Regions from separate parts of the Homo sapiens genome. Here regions 1 and 3 are each linked to region 2. The links are contacts of gene promoters, found by promoter capture Hi-C in blood cells and fetal thymus (Javierre and others, 2016). All regions are on one chromosome and are shown on one strand. The core of a region is centred on a gene start or on the middle of the fragment in contact, and the rest is flanking DNA. Distances in the headings are between cores, read along the strand shown. Region 1 overlaps ACVR1B (activin A receptor type 1B). Region 2 holds the start of GALNT6 (polypeptide N-acetylgalactosaminyltransferase 6). Region 3 holds the start of TMPRSS12 (transmembrane serine protease 12).

The links. The method cuts DNA at HindIII sites, captures the fragments that hold promoters and counts their contacts. A CHiCAGO score of 5 or more calls a contact.
Region 1: a fragment that was not itself captured here is called in contact with the fragment with the promoter of GALNT6 in region 2 in 2 of 17 cell types (M1 macrophages and megakaryocytes); the score reaches 6.5 in M1 macrophages.
Region 3: the fragment with the promoter of TMPRSS12 here is called in contact with the fragment with the promoter of GALNT6 in region 2 in 7 of 17 cell types (activated CD4 T cells, naive B cells, naive CD8 T cells and 4 more); the score reaches 9.4 in activated CD4 T cells.

Annotation. Positions count from the first base shown.
Region 1 is chr12:51,974,854-51,979,081 of GRCh38, forward strand. It overlaps ACVR1B (activin A receptor type 1B), which reads left to right. Exons shown (of 9, transcript NM_004302.5): 2 at 412-651; 3 at 1,474-1,722. Among named protein-coding and RNA genes, the nearest start is that of ACVR1B, 25 kb to the left of the region's middle. The HindIII fragment of the contact is 175 bases long and covers 1,977-2,151 here.
Region 2 is chr12:51,390,143-51,394,407 of GRCh38, forward strand. GALNT6 (polypeptide N-acetylgalactosaminyltransferase 6) reads right to left here and starts at 1,264. Exons shown (of 12, transcript NM_007210.4): 1 at 1,145-1,264; 2 at 708-795. It also overlaps a transcript of SLC4A8 not described here. RefSeq lists enhancers at 441-1,026, 1,027-1,611, 3,655-3,744 and a silencer at 1,297-1,836. The HindIII fragment of the contact is 14,269 bases long and covers 650-4,265 here.
Region 3 is chr12:50,841,259-50,845,497 of GRCh38, forward strand. It overlaps TMPRSS12 (transmembrane serine protease 12), which reads left to right and starts at 1,668. Exons shown (of 5, transcript NM_182559.3): 1 at 1,668-1,893; 2 at 2,584-2,779. The coding sequence starts at 1,707. It also overlaps the pseudogene RN7SL519P. The HindIII fragment of the contact is 6,106 bases long and covers 1-4,239 here.

The DNA of each region.
Region 1 (4,228 bases), core at 814-3,313, 590 kb after region 2:
ATGCTGCAGGAAGCCGTGGGTGTGCTTGGTTCCTGCTGGGGGAGATAGGGCTGGTGATAGCTCCAGGAACCCTAGGTGGCTCTGCATGAAGTGGGGGGCAGCCCCACATTCTCCAAAAGGAAGATGCTTTCCTCTTGTCAGGCATCTCAATTTGAAGAAAAGGTAGTTCCTCTGTCTCTCACAGGCATAAAGTAGAGCACTTAGAGGATAATAGTGGAGCTTCAAAAGCCTTGTTTGTGAGCTAAATAAACAGGTGAAGTTGTGCTCAGTTAAGGATATCTTTTTGGCCCCATCTCTATAAAAACTGTTTTGGAACATCAAGTATGCTAAGGGATTATATTCTAAGTTTGGAAAAGGACCTGCAAAAGATCTCACCATTGATGTCAATGTCTGCTCCCCAATTTCCTGCAGCTCTGCTGTGTGCGTGCACCAGCTGCCTCCAGGCCAACTACACGTGTGAGACAGATGGGGCCTGCATGGTTTCCATTTTCAATCTGGATGGGATGGAGCACCATGTGCGCACCTGCATCCCCAAAGTGGAGCTGGTCCCTGCCGGGAAGCCCTTCTACTGCCTGAGCTCGGAGGACCTGCGCAACACCCACTGCTGCTACACTGACTACTGCAACAGGATCGACTTGAGGGTGCCCAGTGGTGAGTGCATGCCCTTGTTGGGCTAGTGGCTCAGCTTGGAGATAGGGTACCCCGTCATTTCATTTTTTTCTACTCTTGCCCACTCACTTGGTTTGACGATAAAGATGCCTTTTGGATGTTCCCGAAGGTGACAAAGGCTGGGGTTTCTCAGCAGTTGCTTTTGTAGATTAGAGGGTGAGGAAGCAGATTTTCAAGTTAGTCCCAGAGGTGCCCGCAGTGTTTAGAGTAGTGGCTTAGCAGCCATAGGCAGCGGTGAGGAGTGGAAGAACCAGGCAGGGATTCCCACGGGAGGATGTGGGACTGATCCAGAAAGAGATGGCCCCAGAGCCGAGCAAAGGTGACTCCTCAAGGGAGGATGATGGTTAGATGTGAGGAGGGACCAGAATAGGAAAAGGCCAGTGACCAAAGCCGAGAAACACCACATACCATCCTTTTGCAAGCCTACCATTCAGGAGGCATTACTGTGGAGCCCACAGGAAAAGGAGAGAAACTAAAGCAGAGCTTAGAGGAGCTGTGGGAAGTTAAAGGGCAGAAACAGGCATCTGTGTAGGGGCCTGAGGCGGGGATAGTACCACGAAATGCGTGAGGTGACAAAGTGGGTTGTGGGTTTGACTGTGGAAAGAGGTGCCTTAACTAAAGAAGTTGGGCATTTGAGAGCATCTAGGCAGCAAGACTAGCCCAGAAGATTAGAGAGATCAAGGGAGCCTGAACACATCGACAGGGAAAGGGGTCTTTTTCACTCTTCACTTTGAGGGGGGTGTTTTTACTCTTTCCCTTGTTTTTACTTCTCATTCTTTCCCTCTCCTCTCTCACTTGACTCAGGTCACCTCAAGGAGCCTGAGCACCCGTCCATGTGGGGCCCGGTGGAGCTGGTAGGCATCATCGCCGGCCCGGTGTTCCTCCTGTTCCTCATCATCATCATTGTTTTCCTTGTCATTAACTATCATCAGCGTGTCTATCACAACCGCCAGAGACTGGACATGGAAGATCCCTCATGTGAGATGTGTCTCTCCAAAGACAAGACGCTCCAGGATCTTGTCTACGATCTCTCCACCTCAGGGTCTGGCTCAGGTACCAAGTTCTTCAGGGCATCATGTCTGTGGTTGGCTTTCATCAGTTTCCCAGCAGGATAGAGTGCTTGTAGAGAAGGCTGGAGGCCCTGCATTTGTTTCTACCAGCATTGAGTCATTTGGTTTCCTAGTTCCCCTTCTTTTGGAGTCTGACGTGTAATAAGATAAGATAATGGGTTCACAGAAAATCTCTCATTCCGTGGGATTCCCAAGGTCTAGTACACAATTATCCACTACAGAAGTCCTGCCTCTCTAAGCTTTGCAACTGTACGTACATCTATTAAAATTCAGCTGGTCCCACCTGAGCAGTGGAGTGCTCAATTTCAGGGCCCCTTTTGAGAAACAGGAGTGTGCCAGATTCCTGTGAGGTGGTGACAGCTAATCATTGATCTCTGAGCAACCACAAGGGGAGTTTAAGGACATCCAGTAAAGCTTAGAGTTGGGATTTGGTGAATCATTGACTTGTACCAGTTGCCCAAGGGTTTTTGGTGGGGGTGAAAATAAAGGCAGTGTGGGCCTCCAGCATAGCATCAGCACTATTTCCTGTACTGCCTTTTGTTGACCAAGTCTTTCTCAGATGAGGGAAATGAACCAAACACTGGACCTTGGCATAAGACGAGAATTTAAGATAAAGGAGCTCGGGGTTGTTTAGGTCTCAGGGTATAGCTCAGCTAGCTATTAAATGTGAACATGAATGCAAAAGAATTTTTTTACTTACTTATTTATGTATTTATTTATTTAGAAACAGAGTCTTGCTCTGTTTCCCAGGCAGGAGTGCAGTGGCGCAATTTCCGCTCTCTGAAACCTCCACCTGCCTGGTTCAAGTGATTCTCCTGCCTCAGCCTCCTGAGTAGCTGGGATTACAGGAATGCGCCACCACAGCGACTAATTTTTGTATTTTTAGTAGAGACAAGGTTTCGCCACATCAGTCAGGCTGGTCTTGTGTTCTTGACCTCAAGTGATCCGCCTGCCTCGTAAAGAATTTTTTTAATGAAGATAAACCATTATTTTTGTGACAATGGTATTGCATTCCTTTTTTTTTTTTTTTTTTTTTGTTTTAAGATATGGTCTCGCTCTGTTGTTGCCCAGGCTGCAGTGCCATTGTGCAATCACAGCTGACTGCAGCCTTAACCTCCTGGGCTCAAGAGATCCTCCACCTTAGTCTCCTGAGTAGCTGAGATGTCAGGCATGTGCCACCAAGCCTGGCAATTTTTTTTTTTTTTTTTTTTTTTGTGGAAGGTTTCACTTTGTTGCCCAGGCTGGTCTCAAATTCTTGGCTTCAAGTCCATTCTTAAAAAAGAAAAAAAACATCCACAAAGATCACTGTTGCCATTCTAGCTAAAACGCAGAGGATCTTATTTGTGAGAACTTTGCGTGTTTTTATGTATGTTTCCTTGACGTGGGACAAGACTGTTGTTCTGTGGGGAAATTATGCCATCAGTCATGCCCAGACATTCTGCTTGACACGGGAGTACTTTGAGCTGTGACATCTCCTGAATTTCAGTGGCTTTGCTTTTATTAAGCTCTGCAGTAGAGAGCACCAAAATGATGGATATATTTAAAAGCTGCATATTTTTAGAAACAGCAAAAATCTAGGGCTTGTTCCTTGTTGAAAGAGGTAGGGCAGTGGTTAGAACCTCCTGGCTGACTGTGGGAATTGATTTGCTGCTAGAGGAGGGTAGATTGGGTTTTCCAAAGTCTTTTTAAGACCCAGACCAGCTGAAACAAGGGAAGGGCCATGGTAGTTGTTTAGTCGTCTGTGGTAAAATGGTTAATAACTATTTCCCTCTGAGTGGTTTAGTATATTCTTCATTCAGAATATGCAGAGCTTCCAAGGTGTTAGGTTTCTAATAATGTGGTTTTTAAAGTAGTAAGTCCATGCTGCTCATATGACTTTCAATTCATTTAAATAAGTATATACTGAATACCTTCTGGGTGATATGGTTTTAAACAGATTAGAAAGAGCCTGACCCGGCCAGGCGCGGTGGCTCACGCCTGTAATCCCAGCACTTTGGGAGGCTGAGGTGGGTGGATCATGAGGTCAGAGGAGATCCAGACCATCCTGGCTAACATGGTGAAACCCTGTCTCTACTAAAAATACAAAAAATTAGCCGGGCGTGGTGGCGGCGCCTGTAGTCCCAGGTACTCAAGAGGCTGAGGCAGGAGAATGGTGTGAACCTGGGAGGCGGAGCTTGCAGTGAGCCGAGATCACGCCACTGCACTCCAGCCTGGGCAACAGAGCGAGACTCCGTCTCAAAAAAAAAAAAAAAAAAAAGGCTGACCCAGGATTGGATCAGAGAGACAGGAATTGTTGGGAAGAGTCTCACAGAGGAGGGCACATTTAAAGGAGTCTTGAGGCCGGGCAGATCACATGAGGTCAAAAGTTTGAGACCAGCCTGACTAACATGGTGAAACCTCGTCTCTACTAAATACAAAAAATTAGCCGGGTGTAGTGGCACACGCCTATAATTCCAGCTACTTGGGAAGCTGAGGCAGGAGAATTGCTT
Region 2 (4,265 bases), core at 14-2,513:
TCTTTCTTTCTTTCTTTTTTTTTTTTTTTTTTTTTTTGAGACAGAGTTTTGCTCTTATTGCCCAGGCTGGAATGCAATGGTGCGATCTCAGCTCACTGCAACCTCTGCTTCCCAGGTTCAAACAATTCTCCTGCCTCAGCCTCCCAAGTAGCTGGAATTACAGGCGCCTGCCACCATGCCCGGCTAACTTTTTGTATTTTTTGTGGAGATGGGGTTTTGCCATGTTGGCCAGGCTGGTCTCGAACTCCTGATCTCAGGTGATGCACCAGCCTCAGCCTCCCAAAGTGCTGGGATTACAGGCATGAGCCACCACATGTGGCCGGAACCAAAGCATATTTCAAACCCCTCACCTGACCTGGTTTTCATCATCACATGAATTTCCCTGTCTCATCCTTCTTAACCTTTCCTTTGATGGGAAGGGAGACAGCTCATCTGTCTGGAGCGGAGAATAGGGCCTGTGTGGTGCACACACATCTCTGGTAGAAGGCGCAAAAGTCCTCGAGGCTCTTTGGTGTGTCCAGAACTATGAACCTCACCCAGTGCCTGTAAATTGTGTGTGTGGGCCTGGGGGCGAGCTCAGAGCACAGAGTTAACATCCTTTCTGAGAGTGCTGCAATGGGTTGTCGGCTGCTAGAAGGGGTCTGCTGTAAGCTTTGTGGGCAAACTGACCACCCTCCACCCCCATACACAGAAGAGCCCCATCCTACCCTCTGCAGACGTCTGGGTCTGCGATGATTGGCCCTGGATGCAAGTAAAAGCTGTTTCTCCTTTTTGTCAGCCTGGGAATCTGAACAACTGAGGAAATAGGGAAGTCGGTGACAGTCACAGTCATGAACACCCAGCAGATTCCATTTCCCCACAGCAGGAGGCAGATCCCTTCCCACCCCCAAAAGCCCCCAGGCTCTGGAGGGAATTCAACCAAGCAGGGCTCAGACCGACCTCCACCAGCGAGGCTTCTCCTTGCTGTCCCCTTCTGCTCAGGCGCAACGTGGCAGGGCAGGAGGAAACCTCTCTGCAAGAGTTGCCGTACCAGAGCACATGGGGTGGCCCGATCTGGGGAGACGGGGCACAGAAGGAATGCAGGGCATGGGTGGGTGAGGGGAAGAGGGTGTGGAGCCCTGGCTCTGGCTTGTCCCCCTCTCACCCCTCCAAGTTCCAGAGGTCTGGGCTCCTCATTCATCTCGTAAGCGCCAAGGTGGAGGGGGGTCCTACCGAGGGAGGAGCTACAGGCCACCGCGACCAGCAGAGAGCGAAGGCAGGAGGGACCAGCCTGGCCCAGCCCCTTCATTTTACTGTCGGGGGTAGTGAGGAGGAAGAGGAAGAGGCGAAGGCTGGCGGAGGAGGAGGTGAGAGCGAGGACTCGGCAGAAGCGAGATCCGCCGAAGGGAAGTCCGAGCAGTCGGGGAGCTCAGGGGGGCCCTCCCGGGGAGAGGGTCGCGGGCTCCTTCTGCCGCTTACCTGTCGCGCCGAGGCAAAGCCGCAGCCGCGCCGCGGGGTGGCTCCCGGGTTTCCCCACCGGACGGCCGGGAGGGTGGGACCGGGGCGGGACCTCCCCCAGCTGCACTAACGCGCCCGCCCCGCCCCTCCCTGGCCAGGTGCAGCGGGTCCCGCCGTGTCCTCAGCCTGCTGCGGGCCCGGGAACTCCCGGCGGACCGGCAGAGGGGCGCCCCGGCTTCTCTGCGTCTCAGCCCGCCCCGGGGGTGCGGTCTTTGCGGCCAGGCTTTCAGCGCGGAAAAAGATTGGAGGGTCCTAGTCACCCCAAAGAGGACAGGCATTAGCAGAGCCGCGGGCGGCGGGTGCATGGAACCGGAATGTGCTGCGCGCCAGCCTGGAGCGCTCGGAGCCCGGAGGCCTGCCCCGGAGGGGGAAACGCGGCGGGGCGGCCATGGGCCCCGGGGTCCTGCCCCAGGTTTGCTTCTCATTTGTGCTCCATCCAACAAGAGCTCGTATTCCGTGTGCCATGAACTGTGTCAAGGGCTCCAAGTGCCAGGTATCAGGTGAATCCCAGCCCCAGCAAACTTTAAACCTACTATGATTATTCCGAATGTACCGGGGAGGCAGCTGCTCACACAGCAGAGGGTGTTTCTCAAAGTGGGATCCCCCACCAGCAGCGCCAGTCAGAATCACCTGAGAACTTATTAGAAATTTTGGCCGGGCGCGGTGGTTCATGCCTGTAATCCCAGTACTTTGGGAGGCCGAGGCGGGCGGATCACAAGGTTAGGAATTCGAGACCAGCCTGGCCAACATGGTGAAACCCCGTCTCTACTAAAAATACAAGAAATTAGCTGGGCGTAGTGGCGGGCGTCTGTAATCCCAGCTACTCGGGAGGCTGAGGCCGGAGAATCGCTTGAACTCGGGAGGGGGAGGTTGCAGTGAGCCGAGATCACGCCACTGCACTCCAGCCTGGCGACAGAGCGAGATTCCGTATCAAAAAAAAAAAAAAAGAAAAAAAGAAAAGAAAAGAAAAGAAATGGGCCCCACCGCAGACCTAAATATTCCGAAACTCGGGTTGGGCCCGGCGACTTGTGTTTTAAAAGCCCTCCGGGTGATTTTGTGCATGCTCGACCTTGAGAACCCTGAACAATTAGTGGCAGGGCTGGAATGAGAATCCTGGTAAACCCGCCTCCTAAGCCGGTGTTCGGAATTACCCCGCCAGGGCCCGTGCTGCTCAGTGGTCCTCTCCGGCGCTGCCTCGTGTGCTGCAATCTTTTGGGGCCTTAGCAACAGAGAAGGAGCGCGCATGACTCCAAATAGCCAATAATTTGAAAACTTTCTATGGTAGAAACTTCTACCACTAGTTCAGTTTCTCTTTTGTTTTGATATTTAAATAAATTTGTCTTTCTTTCTTTCTGTTTTCTTCCTCTTTCTGCTGCCCCGCCTCCCTCCTTTTTTCTTTTTTCTTTCTTTCTTACTCTCTCTGTCTCTCCTTTCTCTCTCTCTCTTTCCTTCTTTCTCTTTCTTTCCTTCTTTTTCTCTTTCTTTCTCTCTTTCTTTTCTTTTCTTGCTCTACTGCCCAGGCTGGAGTGCAGTGGAGCTATCACGGCTCACTGCAGCCTTGACCTCCGGGTCTCAAGCTGTTCTCCTGCTTCAGCCTCCACAGATGCATGCCACCATGCCCAGCTAACTTTTTTTTGTAGAGAGGGAGTTTCGCCATGTTGCCCAGGTTGGTTTCAAACTCCTGGGCTCAAGCCATCCTGTTGCCTCGGCCTCGCAAAGTGATGGGATTAGAGGCATGAGCCACCGAGTCCAGCCATGAATTTGTATTTCTAAGACCCTAAGACCTGGGAGCAGGAGCATGAGTGAGTAGATCCTAGCAAGAAGTTCTGACACGCACTGGGAAAGGCAGGGAAGCCAGCCGGGTGTTAACAGGTGAATGAAGAAAGTAATCTTTTTTTCTAACCTGAGACTCCAAGGTAGGTTTGATCTATTCAGAAGGTGAGATGTTCTTTGATGGAGTCAGGAGAGAAGGCCAGCAGAGTGTGGAGAAGAAGAGTTGCCCAGCTACACATGATCAGAGTGACGTGAAGGATGGACATTCTCCCAGGAGTAGAAAGGGGTTCATCTGCTCACTCTTGGCATGATGCCCGACTCCCCTAACTCTAAGCAGCCTTCCACCAACTCCCTTCCTTTCACATTCCAGGCCGTGGGCTTTAAGCTCCTAGAGAGACTTTCTACAGAGCTTCCTTGAGCATCCCTTAGCCCATCTGTAGACCCTCTGGACTCTGATTCCACCTCACTGCCCCAGCTGCTTCTATTCTTGTCATGTGCCTTACTTGACAGCTGTCTTTCTCAGAATGAGGGCACTTCCTGTGGAAGATTGTGGGATGCTGCCCCTCATGTCTCTCTTCTTGGGGCTGAACACTCCCTGTACAGGTCGGACCTACCGTCTTTGCTCTGTCCTTCCTCCACCTCTGCCCTTTGACCCTCAGGGGTTGTGTGATCCTGACGTGAGTCTTGCACCTTAGTCAGGACCCAACCTAACCTGAGGTGAATGGCCCCTATTCCTTCCCAGGACAGGGTCATGGCCATTACCCCCAGCCTGGTGCTCCTGAGAGGGCCGGGCCCAGCTTCCCAAGAAGTAGCAGCAGTCTGCGTTGTGTGTTTCGCATTCCGGAAGCAAATTACTCATCTGATTTTACTTCAGCTGACGCTGATTTTAAATGTGACTTGGAATCCTCAGAATAATTAGCTGCCTAATTTGGAGGTTCATGAGTCCGCAGGATGTGTGACCCACCCCTAATGTGTCATGCACTGAGCTGTTCTCT
Region 3 (4,239 bases), core at 418-2,917, 550 kb before region 2:
CACGAAATCCAGCCAACACTAAAGGAGAGGGAACTGACTAAGGCTGTGAATACCAGGAGACAGGGTTCATTGGCGGGCATTTTGTAGGCTACCTACCATACCAGAGGATATTTGTCTGCAGATAGGAGTGATCCCACCAAAGACAGGAAATGACAATGCAGGAGAGGAGAAAAGGCAGAGGAAATCCAGGAAGAAGACCTCTGCAGTTATTGATCCACTGCCTTTTTCATTTTATTTGGAGAGATGGGGTCTTGCTTTGTTGCCCAGGCTGGAGTACTGTGGCTATTCACAGGCATGATCTCACTACCAATCAACACAGGAATTTTGATCAACTCCATTTCCAGTCTGGGCCAGTTACCCCTCCTTAGGCAACCTGGTGGTTCCCCACTACCCGAAGGTCACCATATTGATGCCAAACTTAGTTGACCAGTTGACATAGCATACTACAGTCCAGAACTCCTGGGCTCAAGCAATCCTCCTGCCTCAGCCTCCTGAGTAGTAAAACTAAAAAATATATTGTTTAAAGCAGTGCTGTATAATAGAACTACAGGCATGTGCCACCGTGCCCAGCCCACTGCCTGTGTCACTGCTATTTGATGACTTGGCTGCATATACTTGCTTTATGAGTATGTTAAACCTCTACTATCTGTCATAGCAAGACCCGTCATCCTTATCACGTTGGCTATGGGTTTAAAAAAAGAAAAAAAAAGTCATCTTGCCTTGTTTACAAAGGCATACACAATCTGACCACATCTCACACACACAGAAATACACACACCCCAACTGTGTTTTTCTCCTCCTAATATCACCTTCCACTAAAATATCTGGGGAATAAGGACTTTGTTTCTTGTCAGCCCTCAGAGATCAGCTCATGCTGCAATTTGTTTCTCCAATATCACCTCCTCCACCCCAATTTCGGCACAGCTCTGAGACTCTGCTCCCTTCCCCACATGTTACCATGTGTAAGCCCCAAACTCATATACTCCTTTTATCTAATGCTGCCAACTGCACCAGCCTCGGAAGGATGGTATGAGCAAGGCAACTGTCCTTTTATTGACCTCTACGTTAACTCTCCACCACCTCACCAACTTCCCACAGCCCACACGGTCTTCTTATTACTGAAGGTGTTGGGTTAACAAAGGCAAAGTTCAGTATAGGTCAAGATAGGAATGACAGAACAATTTAAAACTGAACATTAGGTATCACTCTTAAAAACTCTGGGTTATGTTAAAGAAAAATTATTCAGTGATACTCATTAAAGCACAGCAAGGCAGACTTTATTCAGGACCATCCAGATAGGGATAGGGACCATGGCAATGGGATTTTGTAATGGGTAGAGGGACTGGGCTAAAATCCAAACAGAGCAGAGCCAAGGGAGAATTTACAGCCACGGAGCAGGAGAGACGTGTCAGTGGATGGAAAATTACTAAGAGGTAGCATCAGGAGTAATGGCATTCCGGCTAACCGACCTAACAGGATTCTTGCTGGACAGGCCAGGGTGATCAGACATCACCTGGGGGATAGTGGTGGATGAGGAAGCCGATCAGACCTTGAGGGTGAGGGGTTCTTTCTAAACTGACCTACCTATTCCTCGGCCGCCTCCCACACCTCCGGGCCTCACTCGCGCCTCCCCGCCAGGCCGTGCGCCCCGCGTGCCCAGGGCGGGTGGGAAGTACCTGCCGCCATCTTGCTCACCAGCCTCCAAAATGCGGCTGGGGCTCCTGAGCGTGGCGCTGTTGTTTGTGGGGAGCTCTCACTTATACTCAGACCACTACTCGCCCTCTGGAAGGCACAGGCTCGGCCCCTCGCCGGAACCGGCGGCTAGTTCCCAGCAGGCTGAGGCCGTCCGCAAGAGGCTCCGGCGGCGGAGGGAGGGAGGGGCGCATGCAGAGGGCAGTACCTGTTCGTGCCTGTCTCTGGGGAGCCTCTCTTACCTTTTCCCCACCGCTATAGTCTTTGAATTCGGGTTTCTCCTTTTCTGTTGTCCCAATGGCCTTTAACCAAAATTTTACATACCTAAGCAGTTTCTAGACCGGCTGTAATAACAGTAGTTGTAATAGTGAAATGACACATTTGTATTGTGAATCTGTATTTTCTCCTCAAAACATTCTGGGTTTTATCATCCCCATTTTATAGATTAATAAGTCAGGGGATAAAGAGTTGAAAGGGAGGGCTATTAGGTGACCATTTCATACTATAGTTGAGAAAAATTAGCCCAACAAGTGAAATGGTGAGCATTAGAATTTGCGGCTCTCGACTCACCGTTCCCAGGCTCTTTAACTGCTATTTCACACAGGGAAGAATGTGATACGTGGCCAAAAATTTTTATTTTTATATTTTTGGGGAATAGAGTTTTAAAATTAATGAATTGTGTTGACTTCATGTCTATTTGTAAGTAATCGATTATGGCATATTTGTCTTAACTCTCCAAGTTTCTTTCAAAATATGGGCGTGTCTCCGGTATGTTAGCTTGCTTTGTGTTTTTAACATAGGAATTTAAAGGATTGCATTAATATGTTCAGCTTAGGAAGTAACACATACTATAGATGCTCAGTCCAAATAATATATCATTTTTATTTTTAGATTGTGGAACAGCACCGCTTAAGGATGTGTTGCAAGGGTCTCGGATTATAGGGGGCACCGAAGCACAAGCTGGCGCATGGCCGTGGGTGGTGAGCCTGCAGATTAAATATGGCCGTGTTCTTGTTCATGTATGTGGGGGAACCCTAGTGAGAGAGAGGTGGGTCCTCACAGCTGCCCACTGCACTAAAGACGCTAGGTACGTATTCAGAACACAACTATTTTTATGCTCTTAGGGGATATTTTGAAGTGATAGAGGACCATTTAACTTCAGCCATTTTCAGCTAAGCTATGTTTGCAAATAGCCATAATGCCTTATATATAGTACAGTGTATTTGTTGAAAGGAATCCTTTATTTATTATTATTATTATTATACTTTAAGTTCTGGGGTACATGTGCAGAACGTGCAGGTTTGTTACATAGGTATACATGTCCATGGTGGTTTGCTGCACCCATCAACCCATCATCTAACTACATTAGGTATTTCTCTTAATGCTATCCCTCCCCTAGCCCCCTACCCAGGAATCCTTTATTTTTTACTTTTTTTTTTTTGAAATGGAGTGTCACTCTGTTACCCAGGCTGGAGTGCAGTGGTGCAATCTTGGCTCACTGCAACCTCCGCCTCCTGGGTTCATGCGATTCTTCTGCCTCAGCCCCCGGAGTAGCTGGAATTACAGATGCCTGCCATCATGTCCAGCTAATTTTTGTATTTTTAGTAGAAAAGGGGGTTTCACCATGTTGGCCAGGCTGGTCTTGAACTCTTAACCTCACGTGATCTGCCCGCCTCAGCCTCCCAAAGTTCTGGGATTACAGGTGTAAGCCACCATGCTCGATCATGGATCTTTTAAATTAGAGGCTGGTAAACTTCCTATAAAGGTAGTAAATATTTTACACTTTGAAGGTCATATGGTCTCTCTCACAATTGCATGAAAACCAGCACTGAAAATAAGTAATTGAATGAGTGTGGCTATAATCCAATAAAACTTTATGAACACTGAAATCTGAATTTCATATGTTTAACGTGTCATGAAATATTGTGGTTGATTCAGCCATTTAAAAATGTAGAGTAGGGCATGTTGGCTCATATTTGTTATCCCAATGCTTTGGGAAGCCAAGACGGGAGGATCACTTGAGGCCAGGAGTTTGAGACCAGCCTGGGAAATATAGCGAGACCCTGTCTCTATATTTAAAAAAATTGTTAATGTAAAAAACATGCTTTATGGACTGTATGAAAACAAGAGACATGCCAGATTTGGCCTTCACTATTAGACTCTTTGAAAAAGAGACTCTCTTTGCTTCATCTCCATTGACCCATAAAATCCAACTGCAGTCTGATTTTTGTGGCCAAATGCTGTTAAAGATCCACTTCCATGCCAAATCCAATGACTTCATCTCAGTTCCCATCCTTTTTGACCTCTACAGCCTTTGGCAATGTTGACCACATTCTCTTCTTGAAATTATCTCTTTTCTTGATTTCTAAGACACCATTCTCTACTTTTTTCTCCTGCTTCTTTGATGAGTCTTTGTCATCCTTTACATTGCAGTGTTTTCTAGAGTTTGCCCTCTGCCCTCTGTCATTCTGTACTCTTTCCTAGAGATGTCTAATCTACCTCTGTTTCAGCAATCACCATGTGCTGTCAACTCCTAGGTCTCTCCTG